Linked DNA regions of Homo sapiens: all the other regions are linked to region 2. Evidence: promoter capture Hi-C in 16 types of primary human blood cells and fetal thymus (Javierre and others, 2016). All regions are on one chromosome and are shown on one strand. The core of a region is centred on a gene start or on the middle of the fragment in contact, and the rest is flanking DNA. Distances in the headings are between cores, read along the strand shown. Region 1 holds the start of DEFB113 (defensin beta 113). Region 2 overlaps GLYATL3 (glycine-N-acyltransferase like 3). Region 3 holds the start of DEFB110 (defensin beta 110).

Evidence for each region. Contacts are between HindIII fragments. The CHiCAGO score rates a contact against its expected background, and 5 or more counts as called.
Region 1: the fragment with the promoter of DEFB113 here is called in contact with a fragment that was not itself captured in region 2 in 1 of 17 cell types (erythroblasts); the score reaches 5.1 in erythroblasts.
Region 3: a contact is called between the fragment with the promoter of DEFB110 here and a fragment that was not itself captured in region 2, in 2 of 17 cell types (megakaryocytes and erythroblasts). The highest score is 7.2, in megakaryocytes.

The regions. Positions count from the first base shown.
Region 1 is chr6:49,966,120-49,971,059 of GRCh38, forward strand. DEFB113 (defensin beta 113) reads right to left here and starts at 3,506. Exons shown (of 2, transcript NM_001037729.1): 1 at 3,449-3,506; 2 at 2,558-2,748. The coding sequence starts at 3,506. The coding sequence ends at 2,558. The HindIII fragment of the contact is 3,298 bases long and covers 3,120-4,940 here.
Region 2 is chr6:49,526,374-49,530,780 of GRCh38, forward strand. GLYATL3 (glycine-N-acyltransferase like 3) reads left to right here. Exons shown (of 6, transcript NM_001010904.2): 6 at 115-1,705. The coding sequence ends at 541. Among named protein-coding and RNA genes, the nearest start is that of C6orf141, 22 kb to the right of the region's middle. The HindIII fragment of the contact is 8,083 bases long and covers 1-4,407 here.
Region 3 is chr6:50,020,071-50,024,358 of GRCh38, forward strand. It overlaps DEFB110 (defensin beta 110), which reads right to left and starts at 1,924. Exons shown (of 2, transcript NM_001037497.2): 1 at 1,811-1,924. The coding sequence starts at 1,865. The HindIII fragment of the contact is 4,807 bases long and covers 1-3,349 here.

The DNA of each region.
Region 1 (4,940 bases), core at 2,256-4,755, 440 kb after region 2:
TTTCTCTATAATTTTCTCTCCTACTTTTATGTCTTTTTGTTATTTTTTGATTTTAAATAAATCTTTTACTTTTATATTTAGCTTTTGCAATTTTTTAAGCAAAATTTTGTCGTTTGCTAAAAAAGGAATATAAGTGCCATTTTCTGTTCTTTGATTATTCTTATGTCATAGAATTATAGTCCTGTATTATAGATGTAAAGGCTTCTTGAATACCTCTGTAAATACATTTTAGAGAGATTTTGTTTGTTTGTTTTGTGTTACATTATATTCTTTTTCTTGATCTGTTTTCTCAGAATCTAGCATTCTGTTTGTCATTGTGATCTTAGATATTCATGCTGCTGATTTTACTTATATGCTGGATGAAGAACTGAATACATTGTAGGATTTCCTCCGTTGTCATGCATATCTTTTCCTCTCTGCAATGGAATTCTCATGGTAAAGTCTGTGAATGCGGGCTGAATGGGCTTCCTTACTACAAGTAGAATGCCATATGACTCCCTATATCTTGAAGAAGAAACCTTGCTATTTTTCCAGAGGCAGAAGTTTCTATACCAGAAATCTTAGCTCTCTCCACAAGATTTTAATTATTCAATTAGATTGTGATTGCATTTAAACAAAGCTAAAAACCTCATGAGGGAAGAATTGTGGAGATTCAGTAATTTTTCTTGAATAAAGAAAGGCTCCTTGGATTTTTTTGCAAGTCTAGTTAATTTGCAGAGCTCTTTATAAAGTGGATTTAGACAATTTTATGACGATCTTTTTCTTCCTTTTATGGAGAAGCAGATTTTCTGAATTTTTTACTCCATTTTTCCAGAAGTCCTACCCATAATTTTTTGCTTATTGCTACTTAACAAAAATTTCTGTGGTCTGAAAGTTAAGCTCTGTTCTGATTTATATTCTTGTGCAATAAACTACTCTAAAACTTGTTGGCTTAAAGTAGAAGAAAAACACAACATTTTATTATGCTCATGAATTGTGCGTGACAAAAAATTAACATAGAATATAATGGGGTATGAGGTTGCCTATTTTCTTTATGTCTGAAAACTCACCTGAGAGACATAGCCTAGGAGTGATTTCACATTGGCTAACTCCTTCTTATCCTCCTTTGTGGGTTCCAGTTCTTCACATAGAATTATTTAAATCCTATTCCTTGGGATTTCATACTTTTCCACCTTGGTCTGTAGCCTTTCATTGGGTGATTTTATCTCATTGCTTTGGTTAATGGCTCGACAAATCTATATTGGAAGCACATTTTTTCTTTCTTGAGCTTCACACATGAATATAGCAGAAAAGTGTAAACCTAATATGTTATAAGTGCTCCTTTCCAAGTTTGCTCCTCTGACTATATTTTTTAATGAGTGATCACATAGTTAGGTAAATGTTTCAAATAAGAAAACTGCAAGTAATCCATTTCTCTTAAACCTAAAATTCACTGAAACTCCTTGATTTCTTCTAAGTCAGAACTCTGCCCTAAATTTTTATACTGTCCAAATTGTTGTTATAGGTTTAAGTAAGAAATACATTTGGTGGATACTTTAAATCCTGAATGCCAAGTTTTACTGATGCTTTATAATTAATAAGAATATTTATGTTAAAGTTATTTTAATAGTATAATAGAAATTAATGTGGAATGTGGAAACTTGGAAACCCAATGAATTCATTGAAGACAAGGACAAAAACAGAAGCATTAAGTATTGAAGTATAAGATGAAAGAAGTTAAATAAAATTCTTGAGGACCAAGAGAGAAGACCCTTGGATTGGCAGCCTATGTTTAAGATTGATTATAATAGTCAGCTTTGGATGTTAGAATTAGAAGTGACTTTTCTTTTTTATCTTTGAACATTTCTATATTGTTCTAAATTTTCATATTATTTTAAAATTTAAAAAGCTGTTAAGATGTTTTTAATTTGCTTTTATCCTGATCACAAAATTATAAGTATATATGTAGAACAATATAATATTATAACGAAGTAAATAAATCAGCCATGAACTCATCTCTCCAACATAACTACTCTTAGGGTTTAGTGTTTTTCCTCCTGCTGTTTTTCTCTTTTGATGTATTTTTACATGGGTAAGGTGTTAATATATTCCATTTTACTCCCTTTTCAGTTTGATTAGCTCTTTCTTAAAATTGTTTTTATCAGTCTTCTGTTATTATGTGATTAGCATCTATATAACTTTGTGTCCAAGAAACAAACACATTTATATGGAAACTAAGAGAAGGCACATAAACCATAATTTATGTTTACTATATGAAAGATCATATGAAAATAAATGTTTCTGTACCAGGCAAATAAATAGGTCAGAGATGAAGAGAACAAGAATCAAAAGTCCTCTGTCTCATGGCTGGAGATAAACTTCTGCCAATTTAATGAAGAAGATGCTACCACTCTTTTTTTCTTTATTTCTCTTGTACTAAGCCAACATTGAATTCACTAGCCATGGTATAATTGTGTAATCCAGAAGGCCAGAGATCAACAACTTAAATATAGATTGATAGATAGCAAAAATTCATTTTTATTAGTAAAATTGTTATACAGTGTTTTATAATTATAATTTATTTTTGATGGAGTTTACTAGTGATTTTGTTAATGATTGGCTTTTGGTATTCCCATACCGCACAGCAGGGGTTAACATTGCAGTAATAATATACATATTCCCAGCTGTTGCATTCCGGCTTGCAAGCACCACGAACAAGCTGACATTCTCTTTTTCTCTCTGCAACTTCTCTTGTTTTTTTCTGTGGAACTAGGAAAAAGTAGCTATGACCATAAGTCCAGATTTAATATCCTTAGATACAGAGATGAATAAACTCTTTAAAATGTAGAGTTAAACCATTTTGTTTCTGAAATCATGCCCAAGCAACTCTATTGAAATTTTTCCCTCTCTCAGCTGGTATAATATACTTATTTATCTAACAATATTGCTTTTGTCACCAGCTTTTTAAATTATCATTTAATAAATAGAACATTTTTAAATATCTAATTTGTGTGTGCTTCCTCAAGAGTAAAGAGAAAAAGACATGGAAGAAATAGCCTACATGTTCTGTGTTCTAAATAATCATCCACCTCCAACCCCTTTTCTCTCTACCCCTAGCAATCATTAGGTTGGCTGTAAAAAGCTTAATTTTGATGGTAGCTACAATAGCAGTTGGTAAAATTGATTTTGAAACAGAAGGCAGTGGGAAGTATCTAAAAAATTATAGTGTCATCACACAAAACAACACAATAAATAAATTTAATTCTACATCTCAGGAAGTTTTAAAAATTATTTTCTCAACTACCAGTTCTACTCATTTCTTCCCCCATGAAAAAATAGAGAAAATTGCCTTATAAGGAGTTCATATGAAATCTCCTAACAATAATTTATTTGTTTTTATTATTTTCAGAGTAAAGCATTTATAAGAACATTTTGCCTTTCACATCTTTTTTATAATAACAAATATTACCTGATGGACCACAAGACACAGTGAAGACAAAGGTCAGAAAAATACAAAGTATCTTCATTGCTGATGCAGTTACACTTGAGTAAAGTGGGGACAGATCTCAAAATGTCTCAGAGTTGTGCTAGTCTTTGGTAAAAGAAATATGGGTTCTTGTTTTTACAGCCTTCTTGGCGTGATTACAATTCTGATTAATGCTGCCTACAATTCTGATTAATGCTGACTTTCCAGATTGAGTGCATATTCATGTAAGCATTGTGAAACAGCAAACAAGTATAGTAGAGAGTTTAGTGCTGCTACAACCTCGGTGAGCCAAACATGAATTCATTTCATTTTTGTAAGTAAACAATGGGGTTAAAGTATTCTTGGTCACTAATTAATTGAAAGCACATAATCAACATCATTTACATTTTTGACTACATGCTTTCTTGAGTATTTATTATGTACCAGGGGCTGTTCTAAGAACTTTATAAGGATTAATTCTCATGACAAATTCTATAACATAGGAACTTCTTAATTTCCAATTGAGAAAACTGTGACGCAGACAGAATATGTAATGGCTCACAAATTATACATGTAGTCATTGGTGGAGTAGAGATTAATTATCAGGTTATATGATGACAGAGCTCATTCTCTCAGCCTCCACCCTCCTCATTCTCTCAACTGTATGTTGGGTTTGCATCAAGTGTGGTTATTCTCTGTACACATGGCCTGAACCATACACTGTTTCTGGGATTCAATTTTTCTAGAAATAGAAAGTATTTCTATATCACTGTTTTAATACTGTTATACTAGCAATTATCATAGTTACACTATAAGGATAATCAGTATCATTATTTACATGCCATGTAATGATGACTCAGTCATGAAATTATCTTATTCATAGGAGAGAGCAGTGTGTTAAGAATCTAAAGAGCACTAGATTTAGGTAGGGAAAACCAATCTTGGGGTCTGGTTCTCAGTTTACCATCTATATATTTGGAATAAATATTCATTTATCTAAGCCTTAGGAGTCTCTTCTTGAAGTCCAGATTGGTAGGACCAAACATATTTGGAGTTTTCATAGCAAGGATCAAGTAGAAAACATGTAAAAAATAAATAAGTAATTGATATATGAATTTAAACAATTTGGTCCACTTTCATAAATCTAGAGCTGGGTTTTTAAATCCAAAAAGATGTATCCTTACAACTTAATGATATTATATTATCATTAGATGAGATCGTTATTTTTATTTATATTTGTATTTAATTTATATTCTAACTCCTTCTGTCATTTAGGGAAATAAATTAGAAATATATTATGTAATCTGAGTTTAAAAAGCAGCAGTCCAGTCCTCTTGTCTTTTGTGTACTTCATTCCTCACTCAAAAGGTACCTATGTATTTATAGCCAGACCATGAAAAATCTATTTTCTCAATATTTTCTCCCTATAAAATGCTAAAAAGAGCCCTTTGAACTGTTGGAGATTTAATAAAACTAATTGTATGTAAGCAGAGAA
Region 2 (4,407 bases), core at 149-2,648:
CTGCACTCCAGCCTGGGCGACAGAGCAAGACTGTGTCTCGAAAAAAAAAATGTGTAGTTATGTATAACCACATGAGTCTGAGGTCCTATTTGTTTTTGTGTCATTCTGGTCTAGCAAGGGGCCTTCCCCACGACTAACCTACCTGAGTGTTGCCAATGCGGATCTACTCAACCGGACTTGGTCCCGGGGAGGCAATGAACAATGTCTCCGGTACATCGCCAACCTCATCTCCTGCTTCCCTAGTGTGTGTGTCCGGGATGAGAAGGGAAACCCGGTCTCCTGGTCCATCACAGACCAGTTTGCCACCATGTGCCATGGCTACACCCTGCCAGAACATCGCAGGAAAGGTTACAGCCGGCTGGTGGCCCTCACGCTGGCCAGGAAGTTGCAAAGCCGGGGATTCCCCTCTCAGGGGAACGTCCTGGATGACAACACGGCGTCTATAAGCCTCCTGAAGAGTCTCCATGCTGAGTTCTTGCCTTGTCGCTTCCACAGGCTTATTCTCACCCCTGCGACTTTCTCTGGCCTGCCTCACCTCTAGCCCAGTAAAAAACTGCAGTGGTTTTATTACTTTCCCTGAGCATACACACACTCTTGGCTGCCAACGAGGGGAGAGTTAAAATGGGAATCAGGGGACTCTTGAGTTGTTGGAAAGGGTCTGGAGAATATATACAGGATCCACTTGAGAAGCCTTAATTTTTCGTATCTCAGGTTTCTCCAGTAAATAGCTGTGGGGGTGAAGAGTAGCTGTGGCTGAAGACTGAGGACGATTGTCCTCCTGTAGGATCCACTGTAGGAGAATAGGTTCTAAAGCCAGCAGTTTTAGTGTACTAGGAGAAATTACTGCATGAGAACAAATGATTTAACAGAGGACCACGTGGCTACTGCTTTTTGATTGCTGCTTGGACCTCTGCTCTGTATTCTTAAAGCCACACCGCTTCCCTACTGCCATCATATTCCCCTGTCCCCACTGCTATGTCTCATCAACCTCTGTTCCTAACACCTCTGCCACCAAGTTCTCTGTAGAGTAACCTCCTTTTTCCCCTTTAATTACTTGCTCTTTACTTCTGCCTAGGACTCTAGCCTATAGTTCACTGCCCTGGGAATGTTCAAATATAGTGGTTCTTACATTTTAGTGTTTATCAGAATCACCCAGAGGGCAGGTTGCAACACACATCACTAGGCCTCTCCTTCTACGAGGTAGGGCCCAAAATTTGCATTTCTAACAGCTTCCCACTGCTTATTTGCCTTGGATGAATGACAATATGGGCATTTTGATGCTATAAACAAATGCTGTCACCATAGAACTAGACTTTACCTATAACCTATTTCAGCCCCCTTATTTATAGTCTACTTTCCCATATAAAACTAAGATTTATATATAGGGGTGTTTGGGGGTATGCAAATGAATATATAACATATATGCATACACATATATATACATTCTCTTCATTTCTTTTATATGTATAGGTATATACTCATAGAATTTTGATAAGATAATAAATTTTAACCCTTTGATTACATATGAAAAATTTGAGGACCAGAGAAAATAAATGACTTTTTCAAGATTATATTCTTTATAATCAGTACTGGAGGCAAAGCCAGAATGCTGCCATTTTAATTCCAATCTGTTATTTTCACTAAATCATGTATCCTTTTTTATAATGAAAATTAAAATGCTTACATAATTAAAATATTAATTTTAGTTTTCTCTTATTCTTGTCATTATTTCTTAATTTGGGTTCTGATTGCTTGTGTATGTATACCTTTCAAGGTCAGTAAAGAAAGAGATAAGCATCACCAGCTCTGTTCTCTATTTATAATAAAAGCAGGCACTAACACAATAGTTAGATTTGCCTTGTCTTGATAATGTTGACTTAGCTATATAGAAAATATTGGTTTCTTATCCCCAAGGAGGTCACAAAATTCTGACTACAAAGATAAGGGAAAATCCAACTTTCAGGCATTCATTCTGAGAAAAGGAAGCAAACTGGCTGAAGTAAAACACATTTTAATTAAAAAAATAGGACTCAGTAAGAGTAAATATATGCTTAGTTCATCCTGAGCCCACAGTTACCTGGAAACTTATCTAGCCTTGGATCCAGAGGGGAAAGCACCAAGTAACCAGAGTCCATAAACCTCTTAGGAGAATATGCCCTAAGGACGCTAATTATGTTTAGCATCGCTTAAGCATGAGTTAATCCTGCTTGATATATAGCAATATTATTATAGCCTTATTTTCTTCCTAATGATAATTTGCCTGACATTTAACGTTTAACTATGTGCTAATAATTGTACCAAATATGAGATGTATATAACTTAATCCTGGTGAGGGATAAGGTATTGCTTTGTTGTGGGAATTCTTGCTTAGAGGTGTTATGAGTCACCAAAGTCATGCAGGCTCTAAGTGGCCAAATCATGATCAGAACATGGGTTTGTTGGATTGCAAAGCCTATACTACTAGTCATTATGCTAATTGGCCTCTTAAGCAGCTTGGAACAGTTTGTAAATAATTATTCCCTTATCTCGTTACATTCTGAATTTTCTACCTTCACCCGCACCTCCAAAACAGACCCCATATTTGAAAGATTTTTGTTCCTACCAAATTGCTCTTATACTATTTTCTTACTTTCATCTTCCAGCTAACTATGTTGGATATAATTGCTCAACTTTTAACACTGTTTCTGACCCTTTTAAGGCATGTGCAGAGAAAGTCTGGAGTAAGGAGAGGACAAGGAGAAGAGAAAAACTCAAGAAGTAGAAACGGGGCCAGGCGTGGGGGCTCACACCTGTAATTCCAGCACTTTGGAAGGCCAAGGCAGATGGATCACTTGAGACCAGGAGTTAGAGAACATCCTGGCCAACATGGCAAAAACCCATCTCTATTAAAAATACAAAAATTAGCTGGGCATGGTGGCACATGCCTGTAAGCCCAGCTGCTTGGGTGGCTGAGGCATGAGAATCACTTGAATCCAGGAAGCAGAGGTTGCAGTGAGCCAAGATAGCGCCACTGCACTCCAGCCTGGGCAACAGAGCCAGACTGTGTCTCAACAAAAAGAAGTAGGAAGAGGCTTGATTAACATAGGTTTTATTTGTTAATTCAAGGAAATTCTTCAATGTAATATAAAAACCAAAAAAAAAGCCTTAAGCAGCGCATTAATCTGTTTGGAAATTAGTTGGGAGGCTATAAGCTAAGCAAAAGGTGGTGGTAGCTTGGATCTGAATGCTAGCAATGATAATGGTGAAAAGTGAACAGTTACTTAAACTATTTAAAAGGAAGAGTTGTCAGAACTTAATAATTTAGTGGCTGTAGGGTATGCTGAGAGAGAAATGTCAAGGATGACTACTGGGCTTCTACGTTGTGAAAGCCACAGCTGGTGATAGTTTTCACTGAGATCAGAAACCCTGGAAAAATCTCAGATCTGGAGCAATTTGTAGCAGGGAAAATTGTTTGTTCAGTTTTGGGATGTTGAGTTTTGAAACATGCAAGTGATGGGACCAAGTTGGATATTTGAGTCTAAATCTCAGAGAATTTATTTGGGATAGATGTATTGACTTAGATGATAACAGATATAGATATAGATATAGATATAGATATAGATATAGATATAGATATAGATATAAATATAGATATAGATAACAGATAACTGATATAGATGATAACAGAAGCCATGAATTTAGCTGAGGTTGTCTAGGACTGAACCTTAAATGCATCAACTATTTAAGGCAAGGGAAAAGAAAGGCTCTGGAATAGGAGAAGGAGCAGCCAGAAGATAGGAGGAAAGCCAGGAGATGACTCCCATGGAAGAGAAAGAAGAAAAATTTAAAAATGGAGGGATGGTCAATGGTGTCAAATTATGCTGAGAGGTCAAGAATACATTAGGAATGAAACATCTTCATTCCATATTTCACTCTCAAATATTTTAAACATATGTACCAAAAAGAAGCCAGAAACTGCATATTGCATAATCCTGTTTCTATAAAGTTTAAAACCAGGCAAAATGAATCTATATCTGTAGAAGTCAGGAAGTAATTACCCTTCAGAAGGATAGTAAGTAAAACTGGACATGAAATGGCTTCTGGATTTCCAGTAATATTCTGATTCTTGACTTGGGTGGGTTACAAAGGTGTGTTCACTTTGTAACACTTTGTTACACAGCTGTGTTCCACTTGGTAACACAAGTATGTTCCCTCCAGCCCTGACTTAGCCAGGCCCTTCCCTGCTGGGCTCAGTCTTTCCATAGGCAAATCTGCATGACTAACCACCTCCTCCTCGCCCCCTGTGAGTCAGGGCCTAGAGCATATGATTATCAAGCTATATAATTATGATATATCTACTTTTCTGTATGCAAGTTGTACTGCAATAAGGAATATTCGTTAATAAAAAACAGGCCTGAAATCTGGAAA
Region 3 (4,288 bases), core at 674-3,173, 490 kb after region 2:
GAATGGGTGAGGGATTTGTAGCTGGGGTCACAAGAAGACATGTCCAGGAGAGCAAAACTGCAACTAAAATTTGCACATTATAAGAAACACAAAATTTGACACAATACAAAAATAACTTTGTAATAGTCAAAGCTGTAAGAAAAGATATGTTTTTTTTTTAGCTTAAAGATGGACTCTCACTAGAAGTTTCTTATTTAGAATTGAATATATTTAGGGGGTTTGAGGACATTGGTTTGATTGGTTATGTGATCTATTCCAAGTCAATTTTTTTAAGTTTATATTTTAAATTGTACCAAGTCAAAATTTTTTTATTTTATATTTTAAATTGTACCCTGGCCGATTCGTTTTCAGAAGTCATTTGTTTTGTAGCCTTTTTTTTTTGTATACACATCAAATTCTTGACCAAAGGACAGATTTAATATTTTCACATATGAAAACAAATAAATTATGCCACTGTTTCCTGCTATTAATTATTGCTTGGTCTTCTCAAAGGCCAGGCCTTTTGGCCTAGGCAGTCTGTCTGCAGTTCCAACAGCTGACACCTGATGGTGAGTAGTAATACCTGTTAGCTAATACATAGACTCAGAGCTACATTATCTATGTCATTGGTATAATGGCTATAAAACCAAGTCCTACTATTAATATTGGCTTTCTTCTCAATGTAACCAAAGCAATTCAGAGTATGAAGCAACTTAAAGAAACAAAAGCATAGAAGAGCATCTAGTTAATCTGCACAATTTAAATATTCACTTCTAAAGATCATTACTTATTCTACATTTTCTGAGGAGTTATTATTATCAAACCCATATGTGATTACCCGTGACAGACACCTGAATTATACTCACTTTTGGCAAAAGTTCTGTCATGTTTGGCACTGTTGTCCATGAATGCACCTTGGACTGACCCCACCCCTTCTCTTATTCATTCTTTGTCTTATTTCACCTTTCTAAAACATTATTGTCTTCTTTCTCCTCATTCTGACCTCTACATGTGTTCTCCAGTTTGTGTCCTTGGATTGCTAATCTCCTTTGCAAGCATTCATCTCCTCATTCAAATAGTATCAATTAAATATACTCCCTGTCAATTGGATGCCAAGCTCAAGGGCATGGTGTCTCACTCTAAGCAATATTGATCTTTTGAATAGGACAATTCTTTGCTCTAAGGGGCTGTTCCATGCATTGTAGGTTATTTAGCAGCATCCTGGGTTCTATCTACAACTGGTACTGTGCCAGTAGTACAAGTTGTGATGAGCTAAAAGGTCTCTAGACGTTGCCTGATGTTCCCTTGAGCACAAATTCACTCCTCTCTGAGAACCACTGGTCTAGTGATACTTCGATATTTCAATAATTATTATTTCTGCCTTCAAATACATTGTTCAAGTCCAATCTGTCTGAAGTCTCTGATCATTACTTTCAACAAAGTAAAATCTCTCTCCATTTCTGTCTCACATCACTTTTTGTTATGATATTATTTTAGATTCACAGAAGAGTTGCAAAGTTGGTGGAAGCCAGCTTCCACTTATGTTATATATTGCATAAACTTGGTAATGTTAATTAAGATTAACGAATTAATGTTGATGTAATAGTATTTACTAAGCTATTCAGATTTTGCCAGTTTTCATACTTGTTATTTTTGTCTGTTTTTCACTATTGTCTTTATTATCTGTTCTGGAGTCCAATCTAAAATACCACATTACATTTTTGTGAAATGATGTTTTAATCCCTATGTTATTATCATATTTTTTATCAAGAAACAACTTATGTCTTCTCAAATTTGTTAGTATAAATCCCCACAAATATTTGCATATTACCTGGTAAAATTGTGACCCAAAAGTGCAGAATAAAGAAAAAAAGTTGAATCTTCATGGTAGAGAGTTTCTTAAAAAAAGGGGGCAACAGACCTCCTTTTTCAAGTCAGTTGTTTTGAAATAAGGAAACAGAGATCCCTTTTATTTGTGGATTCTCCTGGGAAGTACTTTTAACCACTGAGGCTTATCAAGAGCAAGAACATTTGTATGCTTGGTTGAATAGTGCCACCCTCAAAGAACATGAACTCAAAAAGTATTATTAAATTTTTCTCATAAAAGTAAAACCTGCTGTGTAACCTTAACTAGACTTTCATGAAAACAACACAGTTTTTAAGATATTTTATTTATAGGGGATATGTGTTTGGATTGCTAAATGTTATAGTAATCATCTCCTCTATTCTATGTTATATGTAATATTAAGTATTCTAATGCCTTAGTATAAAATTGTTGAATGCCTGAATCATAAGATTTTAGAGAAAAAGTTTCCATTGAGATCAGTTTTGTTTTGCTGATAAAACAATGAGAACCAGGGAGATTAAATAACTTTATTTCAATTAATATAATATGCAATTATTTAAATAATCAGTAAATTCTGGATTCACTAAAAATGTGAGAAATATTCTATATGTCTTTTTTTTTTTTTTTTTTTTTTGAGATGGAGTCTGGCTCTGTCACCCAGGCTGGAGTGCAGTAGCACCATCTCAGCTCACTGCAACCTCTGCCTTCCAGGTTCAGGTGATTCTCCTGCCTCAGTCTCCTGAGTAGCTGGGATTACCGGTGCCTGCCACCACGCCTGACTAATTTTTGTATTTTTAAAAGAGATAGAGTTTCACCATGTTGGTCAGGCTGGTCTCAAACTCCTGACCTCATGATCCACCCGCCTCGGCTTCCCAAAGTGCTGGGATTACAGTCATGAGCCACCATGCCCGGCCAAGTCTTTGTATGATTCATAAATTTTCTATAGTCATCTGATTTCAAAATTTCAGGTTCAATGTTTTAATTCTGTTTATGGAACTGAAAATTTCATATCTGATCTAAATTGCATGCTTGCAAAAACTATTATTTTGGATATGTGAGAAAGAGCTGGAAGTTTTGCCCAGTACTCAGAAGCTGATGCTATAAAGAAAAACAATTGGCCAGGTGTGGTGGCTCACACCTGTAATTCCAGCACTTTGGGAGGCTGAGGCGGGTGGATCACCTGAGGTCAGGAGTTCTAGATCAGACTGGCCAACATGGTGAAACAACCCCGTCTCTACTAAAAATACAAAAATTAGCCGGCCATGGTGGCAGGCACCTGTAATCCCAGCTACTCAGGGGTCCAAGGCAGGAGAATCACTTGAACCTGGGAGGCAGAGGTTGCAATGAGCCAAGATTGTACCATTGCACTCCAGCCTGGGGTAAAAGAGTGAGACTTCCTCTCAAAAAAAAAAAAAAAAAAAAAAAAGAAAGAAAAAGAAATCAATTAATCAATTATTTCCTACCACATAGTTAATTTTTAAGACAGTGGTTCCTAAACTTTAGCTGCATCAGAATCCCTTAGAAAGCTTGCTAAAATCAGATTGCAGTGTCCCACCCCCGGCATTTCTGATTTAGTAGATCTGGAATAGGGACTAAAATTTGCTTTTCTAACAAGATCATTGAATGCTAATGCTGCTGAAAGGGACCACATATTAGTCTAGGAAACCTAACTCATTCATTCTATAATGTCTAGGAAAAATGTTTCACAGAGTCATAGAATCTGCAGCATACATTAATAAAGAATTAAAAGCTGCTTAGAGTTTCTAATCAAATATACTCACATTACTGGTGAGAAAAGTAAAATCAAGATAGATGAACTTATTTACCTAGTAATTGTTATCCTTTGCAACAAATGCTTCATATTATAAAATAAAAATAACAACTTTTGGACTAAATCAATTATGGGGAACTTGAGTTATCTATTTCCTTTCTGGGAAAGAAAAGAAAAATTGAGAATGCAGCATTAGTTGATAGGAGGAAGACCACTTCAGTATATCACTATGCAACACTTAACTCAACAAATATTATTGAGCACTAAAATTAAGAGTTCAGTTATTGATTTCAAATTGATTTTGAATTGATTTCATCTTGTTGCAGTCAGAAAACATACAGAAGACTAAGAAAGGATTCCTATGAATAGAAAGTACTCTATTGACAAAGGTTAAAAAGAAAAAAAAAAGATAACTGTATCTCTAATACAGAGCATTTATCCCTTATCAATTGGTTTTGCTATTAGAATGGACAAAGATATCCTATGCAAAAGAAAACTGGAGAGACTAAACTGACATAACAGAAAATAGACTTTAAGAAAAAAATTGTTACCAGAGACAAAGAATAACATTGGATAATAGTAAAATGGTCAATTCATCAAGAATATAGAGAAATTACAAATATTTGTGTACCTAACATTAAAGCTCTGAAATGCAAGAAGTAATACATGACAGAATTGAAAGGAAAGATAGA